Linked DNA regions of Homo sapiens: region 2 is linked to region 1. The links are contacts of gene promoters, found by promoter capture Hi-C in human tissues and cell types (Jung and others, 2019). All regions are on one chromosome and are shown on one strand. Each heading gives the region's core, a stretch centred on a gene start or on the middle of the fragment in contact. The rest is flanking DNA. Distances are from core to core; before and after follow the strand shown.

Region 1 (6,251 bases), core at 2,356-4,855:
TTAGTAGAGACAGGGTTCTACCATGTTGCCCAGGCTGATCTCAAACTCCTGGACTCAAGTGATTCTCCTGCCTCAGCCTCCCAAAATGCTGGGACTGCAGGCATGAGTCACCGCACCTGGCCTCCTTTATTTTCAACTTTCCATTCTTACTAGCTCTTTCTTTTCTCTTTGTTTTGTTTTTGAGACGGAGTTTCACTCTGTTCTCCAGGCTGGAGTACAGTGGCACGATCTTGGCTCACTGCAAGCTCCGCCTCCTGGGTTCACTCCATTCTCCTGTCTCTGCCTCCCGGGTAGCTGGGACTACAGGCGCCCGCCACCACGCCTGGCTAATTTTTTGTACTTTTAGTAGAGATGGGGTTTCACCATGTTAGCCAGGATGGTCTCGAACTCCTGACCTCGTGGTCTGCCCGCCTCGGCCTCCCAAAGTGCTGGGATTACAGGCGTGAGCCACCGCGCCCGGTCTTACTGGCTCTTTCTACTCAGCATGTAACTATGCTTGTCTCTCCTATAATAAAATACCTTTCTCAGTCTTGTGTCTTCCTCTTATTATCATTACCTTACTTACTTTTAGAAGTAAAGTCCTCGGTTTTTCTATTCTTCTTTTTTTAACCTACAGAAATCTACCTTTTCTCATTATTCCTCTGAAATAAACCTGCCTAGGTTATCACTGTCTACAAGCTTTCCCTTGTAGGAAAGCTCCTCCCTGTAGTATCTCACCATGCTGATCACTTTCTCCTTGAAACTCTCTCCTCTGCGTGTCCATGAATGACTCTCATTTTTCTCTAACCTCTCCTTATCAGTTTATATGTTAGGCTATGTTCTCTCAGGAGCAATCTGACAAGGATTGAATGCACACAGTTTACTTGGGAGGTGATCCTAAGAAACACTGGCAGGGGAATGGGGAGGTAGGGCAAGGAAAGGAAGGAAGACTGTATGGGGAGTGCTAATGAGCAGGTGTGGCTGTGGGCAACTGGGGTTCAGTTCCATTGAGGAAACATTGGGAGACCATGGAATGTACACCTCCAAGTGGTTCCACACGAGGAATGAGTTGGGCTGTTTGATCCATTGTTGGGGAGGAAAAACTTTTCCTGCACTCTCTTATGTTCAGTTCTGAGGGGCTGCAAATTTAACTGACAAGAGAAAAAACATATATGCATATGGCACTGCACAAAAGAAGTGATGATGATTTATTTACCTAACTTAATAGGGGAGAGAGGGGGGCAAAAAGGCTCCTATGGGAAGAACAAAGGGGTTTCTAGGGAACAAACAGGAGATAAGGAAGTTTGTGTTCATAGGGAAGTTGTTTATGCAGGTGCACGTGGTTTTCTATTTCATGTCCATAAACCCCTGGAGAGGGGATGAATGGCAACCTCACTCCCAGAAGATTCTGCTTTTACTGAAATAAAGGAAGCTTCAAGAAGGCTTCTTTTTGCCTCTATTGAATCTTACATGTCTTTAGTTTAAAATAATCCTCATGCCAATTTTAGGGTTGAGAGTGCATCCTCAAACCACCAATTCCCCAACATCCCTGGATGAAGGCTCTTCCTGGAGGTGTTGGCTCCTTGGTAATTCCAGCCTGCCTTTCCTGCTGGCTGCTTCCTCCTTCTGTTGGAAAAAGCTTAGGCAGAGAGTTCAGGAACAAATGCTGAGTGCCAAGGGGACGTAGGCTACTGCCTATTTTTCTCTTCCCCCACTTGCTTATTTAATGTGGGTATTCGCCAAGCTTCTTTCCCCCCGTCCCCCACCTTTTCACACTCTTCATTTTTGCCAGGTGATCTTATCAACTCTCAGTTACCTAATGCTCTGATGTCACGCAAATCTACATCCCTTCCCTTCTCATGTCCCTCAAGGTCTAGACCTGTATACAGAATACACCTGCCTGTTGAGCGTCTTACCTTGGGTTGTCCACTGCAAACTCTCAACATAAATAACACTGGGGTTATAGTCCCTCAAATCCTGTTTATTTTCTGTTATTCCCCACCTCGTCTTGCTTTTCTAGAAATCCATTCTTCTCATTGCTGCCAGGGGTCTTTCTAAAACACCTATCCTACAATATGGCCAGGTACTATTTTAGGTGGTAGGGATACAGCAATGAACAAAACAAGGTTCCTGCTTTCATGAGCCTGAATTCTATAGCTAAATATATAAATACACAATAAAGAAGAAAAATATCAGTGGTAAGTTCCATGCAGACTGGGGAGCTACTTTAGATTTGAGAGGTCAGGAAAGGTTTTGCTGAAGAGAAGACATTAAAGCTCAGAGCTGAATGACACACCTTGAGTGGCACTCAGGAGACATCCACACTTCCCAGATGAAAATCCTTTAGTGACTTCCCAAAGTTCTCGGGATATAAGTCCAAATTTCACAGCATGGCAGAGAAGGTCTTCTGGCATCTGGCCAGTTGTCTTCCTCTCTAGCTTCTTTACATTACATGACATTAATGCATTTAATCCTCACGAGCACCTTGCAAAATAGCAGCTAGGCTGGCTGAGTTCTCTGATGGTCTGATTCATCTTTGTACTGTCACTGCGTTAGTAGTTGGCTCAACAAACGTTCATGAAACAAGCAAGGTGTTGGACAAAAAGCATGGATGCTTAAGGCAGGTCTAGACTGGTGCTGCTCAACAAAAATAAGGTAATCCACATTTGCAATGTAAAATTTCCTCATAGCTACATTAGGAAAGTAGAAGCAACACATGAAGTTGTCATAACATTTTATTTATCCAAATATATCCAAAATATTATGTTTAACATGTGATTCATATAAAGTTAGTGAGATATTTTACATTCTTTTTCTCATTCTCAGTCCTCAAAATCTAGTGTGTGTATTTCACACTTATATCACATCTCAATTCGGACTAGCCACTTTCCAATAAAGCTCAGCAGGCCCCGCGGGGTGGCTCACGCCTGTAATTCCAGTGCTCTGGGAGGCTGAGGCAGGTGGATCGCTTGAGGAGTTCGAGACCAGCCTGGGCAACATGAGGAGACCCCGTTTCTACAAAGCAAAACAAAAACCAAAAAAATTAGTGATGCGAACCTTCGGTCTCAGCTACTCAGGAGGCTGAGGTGGGAGGATCGCTTGAGCCCAGGAGTTCCAGGCTGCAGCGAACTACGATAGCGCCACTGCACTCCAGCCTGGGCGATAACGTGAGGCCTTGTCTCCAAAAATAAAAATACAACAACAACAAAAAATCCCAGAAGTGCTCAGCAGCCACATGTGGCTAGTGGCCACCTCCCGCGAAGCAGCCCGGCCACTCACCTCCTACCACCTTTTACCTATTTCTCCTTCTCCGCAGGCCTCCCTAGCACTACCAGTTGTCTTGTTGGCGAGTCCTTTGTGACTCCCACTATACAAGCCCCTCAAGGCCAGGCTTCGCCCTGAACGGTGCCTGGGCGGAGCAGACGCTCCATCAACGCTGTCCCCGCCTGAGTCCACGTCCAGGGGATCCGCAGGCGCCGTACCCTGCTTCCACGCGCCGGGGCCGCCCCTCGCCCGGCCTCCCGCAGGCCCACCCCTCGCCAGGCCCAGGCCCATCCCCGGGCTGTTCGCTGGAAATCGTGGACGTGACTGGGAGGAGCCTGCCCGCCCCGGCTCGCTGCGCCGCGCGCACAGGGCCCGCGCCAGCGACCATGGCGGAGCCCACAGTGTGCTCCTTCCTCACCAAGGTGCTGTGCGCCCACGGCGGCCGCATGTTCCTGAAGGACCTGCGCGGCCACGTGGAGCTGTCGGAGGCCAGGCTCCGGGACGTGCTGCAGCGCGCCGGGCCCGAGCGTTTCCTGCTGCAGGAGGTGGAGACGCAGGAGGGCCTCGGGGACGCGGAGGCCGAGGCGGCGGCCGGCGCGGTGGGCGGTGGCGGCACCTCCGCCTGGAGGGTGGTGGCCGTGTCCTCTGTGCGCCTCTGCGCCCGCTACCAGCGCGGCGAGTGCCAGGCCTGCGACCAGCTGCACTTCTGCCGCCGGCACATGCTGGGCAAGTGCCCCAACCGGGACTGCTGGTGAGAAGGCGGCGGCGGGCGGGGACTGTGGGCGCTGGCCGCGGGCCTGGCCGTCCTGCTGGAAGCGGGAGCGACGGGAAGGGGGGCTTCGTCCTGCCCCGGGCCGGGGACGCGGGGCTGGACGACCCCCTCCCGCAGGCCTTTCCTGGGCGTCCTCCCCCGCGCTTCCAGCAGCTGGGCGGAAAGGCGCGAAGGTCCTCTCCATGGAGACGTCTCAACCGCCCACGCCAGAAAAGTTGCTGCCCCCGCCCGCCCCCCCGGATCCTGCGCGACGCGGCCGGGTTAAATCCGGACTGGGACTTCGGAGCTCACTTATTCTGGTGATATTTGGCGGGAGGTGGGGGGCGTGGGGCGTCTGAGGATCCCATGAGATCCCTGGACCCTTTAGCCGGAAATCGCTGCTCCCCCATATCCACACACTTGTGCAGAAGCGGGTCTGCGCCCTCTAGGTTTAACAGCGCTGAGCCAGTCTCACCCCAGGAAACAGGGCTGGATGGCTTGGGTGAGGCCCTGTGGTTCCTGACTGCCAGAGCTGGGGTTCGGGGCTGCCTCCTGACCCCAGGCTGTGCTTCACAGCCCCGAATTTTCCTTGGTTGTCTCTAGCCACACACCCCGCCAAAGCGGTGCTGGGGATAGGGGCGCTTTCTTTTTAACGTTGGTGGACTGTGGCAGCTGTTGCCGGGGAGAAGGCCAGGTGCAGTCGCCTACGGAACAGATGTGCATCCTCAGGCGAGGTGGGCGACCCTTGGCTTCAAAGCATCCCTACTGAAAATTCAAATGACCCTGGGAGAGGAGTTCCTTCAACCCAATTTTCTTATTTTCCATCAGTGCTTATTAGGCCATACTATCCCCGGTTTCATGAAAATTACTCAACTTCACATGTATTAAATACATTGAAAGCTGCTCAAGGCAAGGAATTGGACAGACTGGTCCTTCTTCACCTGGGCATCTGACCGAGGGCTTTGTTCTTTTAGGTCTACCTGTACCCTTTCCCATGATATCCACACACCTGTCAACATGCAGGTCCTGAAAAGCCATGGACTTTTTGGTCTCAATGAAAACCAGCTTCGGATCCTGCTTTTGCAGAATGACCCCTGTCTTTTACCAGAGGTGAGTCACCAAGGAGTCACCCTCATGTCACATTTGCTACAAGTACTTTCCCCATTTATTTTTCTTTTGGCTTTACATATTAATTTTAATTGCCTTCGAAGCAACATGATTCAGTTTCAAATGCTTTAAAGGTACCCTTTATAATTGCTATCATGGCGAAATAGTACGTTTGTTTCAGTTTAGCCATACACAAAGAAGTTTTAAAAACAAAATAGTACAAATCCCAAGAGAAAATTGGAACATCAATTAAGACCACCAATTAAAAGCAAGATTTTCTAATCTAGCACAGTGATGCTATCATAGACACCTCCACTTGGCCAGAAGAGGGATGGGAAGAAGGGGAGATGTTGAGAAAACAGAGGATAGTTCATAATTGTGGCCTGATTTTAACTCTAATGCATTTCAGCGTCTAGAAAGGAAGATAGCCACAAGACTAGAGGTAGGAGCTGGAGCCTTTGGTGCAGGTGGCAGAGGCTGCTCTCAAGGCAGCAGAATCTGTACCCAGAAGGCAGTCCTGGAGTTGATCTCAGGAACAAGCAGGTTTCTTCCTGACATGCATAACCTGTTTCATTTCTTCGAGCACTGAAGCCAAGTCTGGTATGTCACGGTTGTGAGCCAGAGGCATTCCAACCAACCATGTTGCCCAAAGTAGATGCAAGCAGTAGCTGAAGCAGGTTATTGGCAGGAAGGGAGAGGAGGGTGGCTGCACCTATGAGGCTGGGTCCAGTCCTTCCTGTCTCAGAGAGAAGGCGTGGTGCCGCTGCTATTTGCCTTTTAATTTTATAGTACTTTTTGATTTATAGAAGTTTAGTGTTTTTATTTTGTCAAATCTATCGAATGTTTTTTTGGTATGCCCTTTTTTAGGATGTATCTTGGGCCCAGCCTCACCTTGTCATATTAGACTACTTCAGTGTTTTGTGAGCAGCTGATGGGTTGGCTGCACTTACAACAGGAGCCTCCCCTGTGCCTCCACTTGTCCCCATCACCTGGGACTGGAAGTAGGTGACATGTGGCACAAAACGTGATCATGTGGGCAGCAGGGACTGTGGAAAAACACAGTGCATGAGGCAAGAATGGTGCCTCACATCTCTTGTATGAAATGCCTGATGATTGCTTTTACCACTCTCTCAATAAAAAAGACAATAGA
Region 2 (6,251 bases), core at 1,388-3,887, 49 kb after region 1:
AAAGCCAAGATATGGAATCAACTTATATGTCCATTGTGGGATGAATGGATAAAGAGAATGTGGTGTATACAGACACAATGGAATACTATTCAGCCTTAAAAAAGAAGGAAATCTTGTTATTTGAGACTGCATGGATGAACCCGGAGGACAAAATGAGCCAGGCACAGAAGGAAAGTCTCTTTTTAACAACTGCATCTGCAAGTCCAAAGAGGTCTTCTCAGTCCTGTTGTCTTTGACATTGACTGTCCTCTCTATTTTAAAACTTGTTTCCCAGGCTGTTGGTGACACCACATTTCCATTGTGCTTCTCCGCTTTCTTTCTAGATCTTTCTCTGCCTTTTTCACGGACTCCTCTTCAGCCTTTCCAAAACGAAGGTCTTTCTCCAGGGCTCTCCTTGGCCCTCTTTTCTTGCCTTCTCCCCTCCCTTTCTAGGCAGTCATTTACTCTCTCATCTTTAGCTAATGACGCCGTATGAATGATTCCATATCTGGAGTCACATCTTCCAAGCCCTCAGCTCACCTTCGCCATCGCTGGCGTCAGCACAGCTCCCTGGTATGGGTCCAGCACCTCACAGCCAACACACTCAGAACCCAACCCTCCATCTTTGCTTCTCACCCAGGCTTTCCAGCTGAATTCCTTTTTTTCCTATCCTTCCACAGATGGTCCAAAATCTCTGAATCATCTTTCATTCTTTCCTCTCCTCATATCTCACCGACTCATTTAGCATCCAGAATGTGTCTCATCCATTTTCTAATTTCCATTCAAACCCACAAAGTTTTTATTTAGAAAAATTTTGAAATACAAAAGCAGTATATGCTGGTGTCAAAAATTCAAATGCTATCTAATCTGTCACAGGAGTGGAGTTAAATAAATGAAAAATAAAGAAAAAAGTTCAGATGATATGATGTGTATTAATCACAGGTAAGATTATTGTAATCAGGTGTATGATTATATGGAGCAAAAAGTGAATTTTCCCCTTCATACATTCACTTCCCAACTCCTCTCTAAACTTGATTTCCTTTCCCAGTAGTAACGACTGTTTACACTCATACTTTTTTAAAAAGTGGGTTTACAATCACAATCCCACTTTTTTTTCATTAGTGGGATTATACTATACAGTATCTTACTCCCCCATGCCCATGTAATATGTGAGTCTTCCATGGAAGAGAATACAAAGTCTAGAAATAAATCCACACATACCTAGTCAATTAATTTTGAGAAAATATAAAGTCAATTAAATGGCAAAAGGATAGTCTGCAACAAATGGTGCTATAACAACTAGACATCACACCCACAAAATTAACTTCAACCCTTTAATCTCACAAAATACATCAAAGTTGACTCAAATGGATCATAGACTGAAACATAAGAGCTAAAACATTAAGTTTCTGGATAGAAACATGAGAGAAAATATTTGTGACCTCGAGCTAGGCAAATATTTTTTAGGACACAAAAAACATGAAACAAAAAAGAAAAAAATAATAAAAAAGTGTATTTCACCAAAGTTAAAAACCTCTTCTCTTTGAATATCTTAAGAGAATGAAAAGACAAGTTATGGACTAGGAGAAAACATTTGCAAAACACACATCGGATAAAAGATTTGTATTTAGAATACATAAATATACAATTTGGTAAGATTTGAACAGACATGCCACCAAAGAAGACATATTGATTGCAAATAAACACATGGAGAGTGTTCAATATCATTAGTCATGAGGACAAGGCAGATTAAGTGCACAATGAGATATCATTAGACACTTGCTAGAATGGTTCAAATTAAAAAGGCTAACAAAATCAAGTGCTAACAAGGGTATGGAACAACTAGACCTTTCATACATTGCTGGTGGGGATCTAAAATATATCCCACCTGGGAAGACAGTTGGGCAGTTTAAATTTACATTTATCACGCCACCCAGTTAAATTTACATTTATCACATGACTTAGCAGATCTACTCCTAGGTATTTACCCAAGAGAAATGAAAACATATGTTCACACAAAATACCTGAAAACAAATGTTTTTAGCAGCATTATTAATAATGACCAAAAACCTGGAAACAATCCAAATGTTCATCAGTTGGTGACTGGACAAATTGTGGTATATCCATTCAATGGAATACTACTAAGCAATAGAAAGGAACAAGTTACTGACGCATGCAACAACTTGGATGAATCTCAGACATTATGCTAAGTAAAAGAAACCAGACACAAAGTGCTACATACTATATAATTCCATTTATGTCAAATGCTGGAAAAGGCAAAGCTGTAGAAACAGAAATCAGATCAGTGGCTGTCAGAGGGAGGGTATGGGATAGACTGCAAGCTGGCACAAGGGAACTTTAAGGGCAATGTAAATGTTCTTTACCTTGAATGTGGTGGTGGTTATAGGATTTCATAGAATTGTTGAAACTCACTGAACATTTTTAAAAGGTGAATTTTCATCAAACTGCTTATGATTGTGGATAGCTTTGTTCTTTGCTTCTTGTGTTTTTCAGTTTCCTGAATTGTACATATTAACTTTTAAAAAATAAAGATTATTTTTAAAACCTGAAAAAAAAAAGGCGAACTTTTATTTATTTATTTATTTATTTTTTGAGACAGAGTCTCGCTCTGTCACCAGGCTGGAGTGCAATGATGTGATCTCTGCTCACTGCAACCTTCGCCTTCCGGGTTCAAGCTATTTTCCTGCCTCAGCCTCCCGACTAGTTGGGATTACAGGCACGCACCACCACACCTGGCTAATTTTTGTATTTTTAGTAGAGACGGGGTTTTGCCAGGTTGGTCAGGCTGGTCTCAAACTCCTGACCTCGTGATCCACCCATCCTGGCCTCCCAAAGTGCTAGGATTACAGGCATGAGCCACCACGCCTGGCCAAAAAAGGTGAATTTTATCTGATTAAATTACCTGACTAAATTTGCCAGCTGAATTAAACTTGACTTGAAAAAAAAAAAAGGAAAAGGAAGTGAGCTGATTTTATATTTTGATAGATAAGGTCAAATTATCCTCCAAAATGGCTACACCAGTAGAATTCGAGAGTGCCTATTTTGCTATACACTTGAATATACAAATGAATATAATCAAAATTTTAAAAGTTTTGTCTGTTTGATGGTGAAAAATATTTTGATCCTTGATATTCATGCAGCAGCATTAAGATCTTGTTCTGGCTAGGTGCAGTGGCTCACGCCTGTAATCCCAGCACTTTAGGAGGCCGAGGCAGGCGGATCTCGAGGTCAAGAGATGAAGACCAGCCTGGCCAACATGGTGAAAACCCGCCTCTACTAAAAATACAAAAAAATTAGCTGGGCGTGGTGATGTGCGCCTGCCGTCCCAGCTACTCGGGAGGCTGAGGCAGGAGAATCGCTTGAACCGGGGAGGTAGAGGTTGCAGTGAGCATAGATTGCGTCACTGCATTCCAGCCTGGTGACAGAGCTAGACTCCATCTCAAAAAAAAAAAAAAAAAAAAAATCTTGTTTTAATTGGTCTCCTCTTTAGTCTTTTCTCTTTCCAAATCATCTTATATAATGTTAATAGAGTAATCCTTCTTGTGCTTAGTTCTAATAATATCTGAACAAATCTTTAATGATCCACCGTCACCTACAAAATTAAGTCCAAACCCTTCAGCCAGATCTTTAAGCTCTCCTTGTTCTATATCAGCTTCCCTTTTCTCTCTTCTCTGCTGCGCCTCTCTAGGTCTGGTATGTCTTACCACTTTCAGTAAGTGATTATAAAGTCTCACTCTTAGACATCTAGCTCAATGGTTCTTACACACTGGAATCCTGGGAAGCTTTTAAAAGACAGGGCTGTCCAAGCCTGGTCTGCAGAGATTTGGATTTTACTGGTCTGAAGTGTGGCCTGGGGGTGTTCTGTTTTGTTTTGTTTGTGGTGTCCAGGTGATTTTAATTTGCAGTCAGCATTGTGAACCACTGCTCTAGCTGATCTGGCCATCAGCTAGATAAATTTCATGCATTCCTGCCTTTATATTTTTGTACTGTTGGTTCCCTCCACCTGGAACACCTGTCCTGTTCTCTTTAGCTGTCCAAGTCCTCTTCATTTTTTAGGCGCCCCCTAACACCCAGCTTCCATGCAACACTACACTGAAGCTTTGCTTGATCTCTTGTGCCAAATATGATTTCTACTTCTTTGAACTTTTTTTTATAACTTCCTTCGGACATCTGTCATGTTCTACTTTGCAATATGTAGGTTTTTAAAATTTGTTTTTTTTTTTCCCGTAAGACTGTAAGCTCCTTGAAAAAACTGTAGACAATTATTATTTTTTTTTTTTTTGAGGCAGGGTCTAGCTCTGTTGCCCAGGCTGAAGTGCACTGGCATGATCACGGCTCACTGCAGCCTTGACCTCCTCAGGCTCAGGTGATCCTCCCACCTCAGCCTCTCGGGTGGCTGGGACTACAGGTGCACGCCACCATGCCTAGCTAATGTTTTGGATTTCTTCATAGAGATGGGAGTCTCACCATGTCGCCCAGGCTGGTCTCAAACTCCTGGGCTCAAGCAATCCACCTGCCTCAGCCTCCCAAAGTGCTAGAATTACAGACGTGAGCCACTGTGCCCGGCCTAATTAATCTTACTGATCATTTAGCACATGACTCTACGGGGCGCTTACTTAGTAGGGACTCAGTAAATATTTTTTGAATGTTTATTCTGGCTACTTCTCCACTTTGCACAGTTGTTCCCTCTGCCTGACACCCTCTTCCCCAGCTATCCCCATGGCCCAATGTCACCTTAGTAGGGTGATCATCCCTGACTATTCTATTTAACACAGTAACACTGACCCTTCCCTCACTCCTTTTCCCTCTTTGTTATTCTGCAAATTGTTGTCATCAGCCGAAGGCTCACTTACTGATTGCCTGTCTCCTCTCACTAGAACATAAGTTCCACGAGGAAGGGCCTTTGTTTTGTTCACCGTTATACCTCCAGTGCCCACTGCACTGCCTGGCATATGGTACATGCTCAAAAAATATTCATTGAATTTAATGAATGACCTTTGTGAACATTCATCTTATTTTGTATAATTCTCTTAAGAACCGAACCCACAGCTAAGCAAGGTAGGCATGTGAAGCCCATCATCAGATAAGAACATTTGAGGTTTGAGAGTAGGGTGAAGCATTTTGTTCAAGTTCATAAACTTTTCTGTGACAGAGCAGAACGCAGAACTCAGCTGTCCTGATTCCTATTCTAGGACTCTCACACTACCCTCTACCGACTTCCAGCCATCCTCTAACTTCAGTCCCTCTGTCCCATCCTTATCCAGACCCTAAGAATTGAGGGGCCCAGGTCAAGAGTGCAAATAGGGGCTCACGCAGCCCATTTCACATTTGGCCATTTTGGCCATTTCACATCGATGACCAGATTTTCATCAGCAAGTTACATGCCAAGCAAGCAAACTATTAAATATGTCTGTTCTACCTTAACAAACGTATGTCTTCAGAATGGTTAGGCTGGTTCACAGGCAGGATTCGCAGACTTCCTGCAGTTGTGAGCAGAACATCGCAGCCAGGTTGCCATGTGAATATGGGCCATGCCCGATCTTCTCTTCCCATCCCTGGTCCTCTGCTTCATTCCTATAGGTTTCATGTGCGCATCTTTAGAGATGCCTCCTGCGTAAGTTTTGCCACTCCCTAGCAAACAACTACCCCGTGGGACCAGACACACCCTTGGTGCAGCCTTGGGAGAATGGACTTGAGGAAGAGGCCACATAGGCCTGAAGATGAGCCTGGGGTGAAATGGGCAGGATTCTGGGGTCCTGGGCACCTGAGCATGGGAAGATGGGCTGCTGGTGAGGGTGCTTCCTGGGCTTCACAGACTCTGTCCTGAGGAGAGAGGTGCAGTTTGAGAAGGCCAGAGTGGGGCCCGCTTCGTCTAGGTCTAAGGATAGTACTGAGCCTACCTCTCCCTGTCTCCAAACCAGATTGTAAGCCTATCGAGGACCCAGGTTAATTTTCCCCCTCCCCTGGAGGGTGTGTGGTTTAACTGGAGACGACAATTCCAGTTGGAGTTGAGCCTTATGGAAATAAACTAACCTCTCTGGCTTGTTTCTTTATCTATGAGAATTGGATGAGATGATCTCTAAAATCGATTTTAAAATCTTACACACACACACACATTTGCACACACTCCCCTACCTCCAAGGACCACTCATCCCCTCTGAGTCTGCAGAGTAACACCACCTACCAGCTGGACTGTCAGAGCCTGGTAGACATTTTCCCAGACATGGAGGCAGAATGCCTTAAATCCTAAC

The links. Contacts are between HindIII fragments. The study calls those that stand out against the background at their distance.
Region 2: a contact is called between a fragment that was not itself captured here and the fragment with the promoter of ZC3HAV1L in region 1, in 1 of the 25 tissues and cell types used here (thymus).

Annotation. Positions count from the first base shown.
Region 1 is chr7:139,033,396-139,039,646 of GRCh38, reverse strand. It overlaps ZC3HAV1L (ZC3HAV1 like), which reads left to right and starts at 3,605. Exons shown (of 5, transcript NM_080660.4): 1 at 3,605-3,994; 2 at 4,969-5,104. The coding sequence starts at 3,630. LOC107986852 (a long non-coding RNA gene) reads right to left here and starts at 3,464. Exons shown (of 2, transcript XR_007060557.1): 1 at 3,276-3,464; 2 at 2,697-2,994. RefSeq lists silencers at 3,313-3,522, 3,773-4,292 and an enhancer at 3,279-4,198. The HindIII fragment of the contact is 9,430 bases long and covers 1,046-6,251 here.
Region 2 is chr7:138,983,755-138,990,005 of GRCh38, reverse strand. No RefSeq gene overlaps it. Among named protein-coding and RNA genes, the nearest start is that of KIAA1549, 5.5 kb to the right of the region's middle. The HindIII fragment of the contact is 6,153 bases long and covers 1-5,713 here.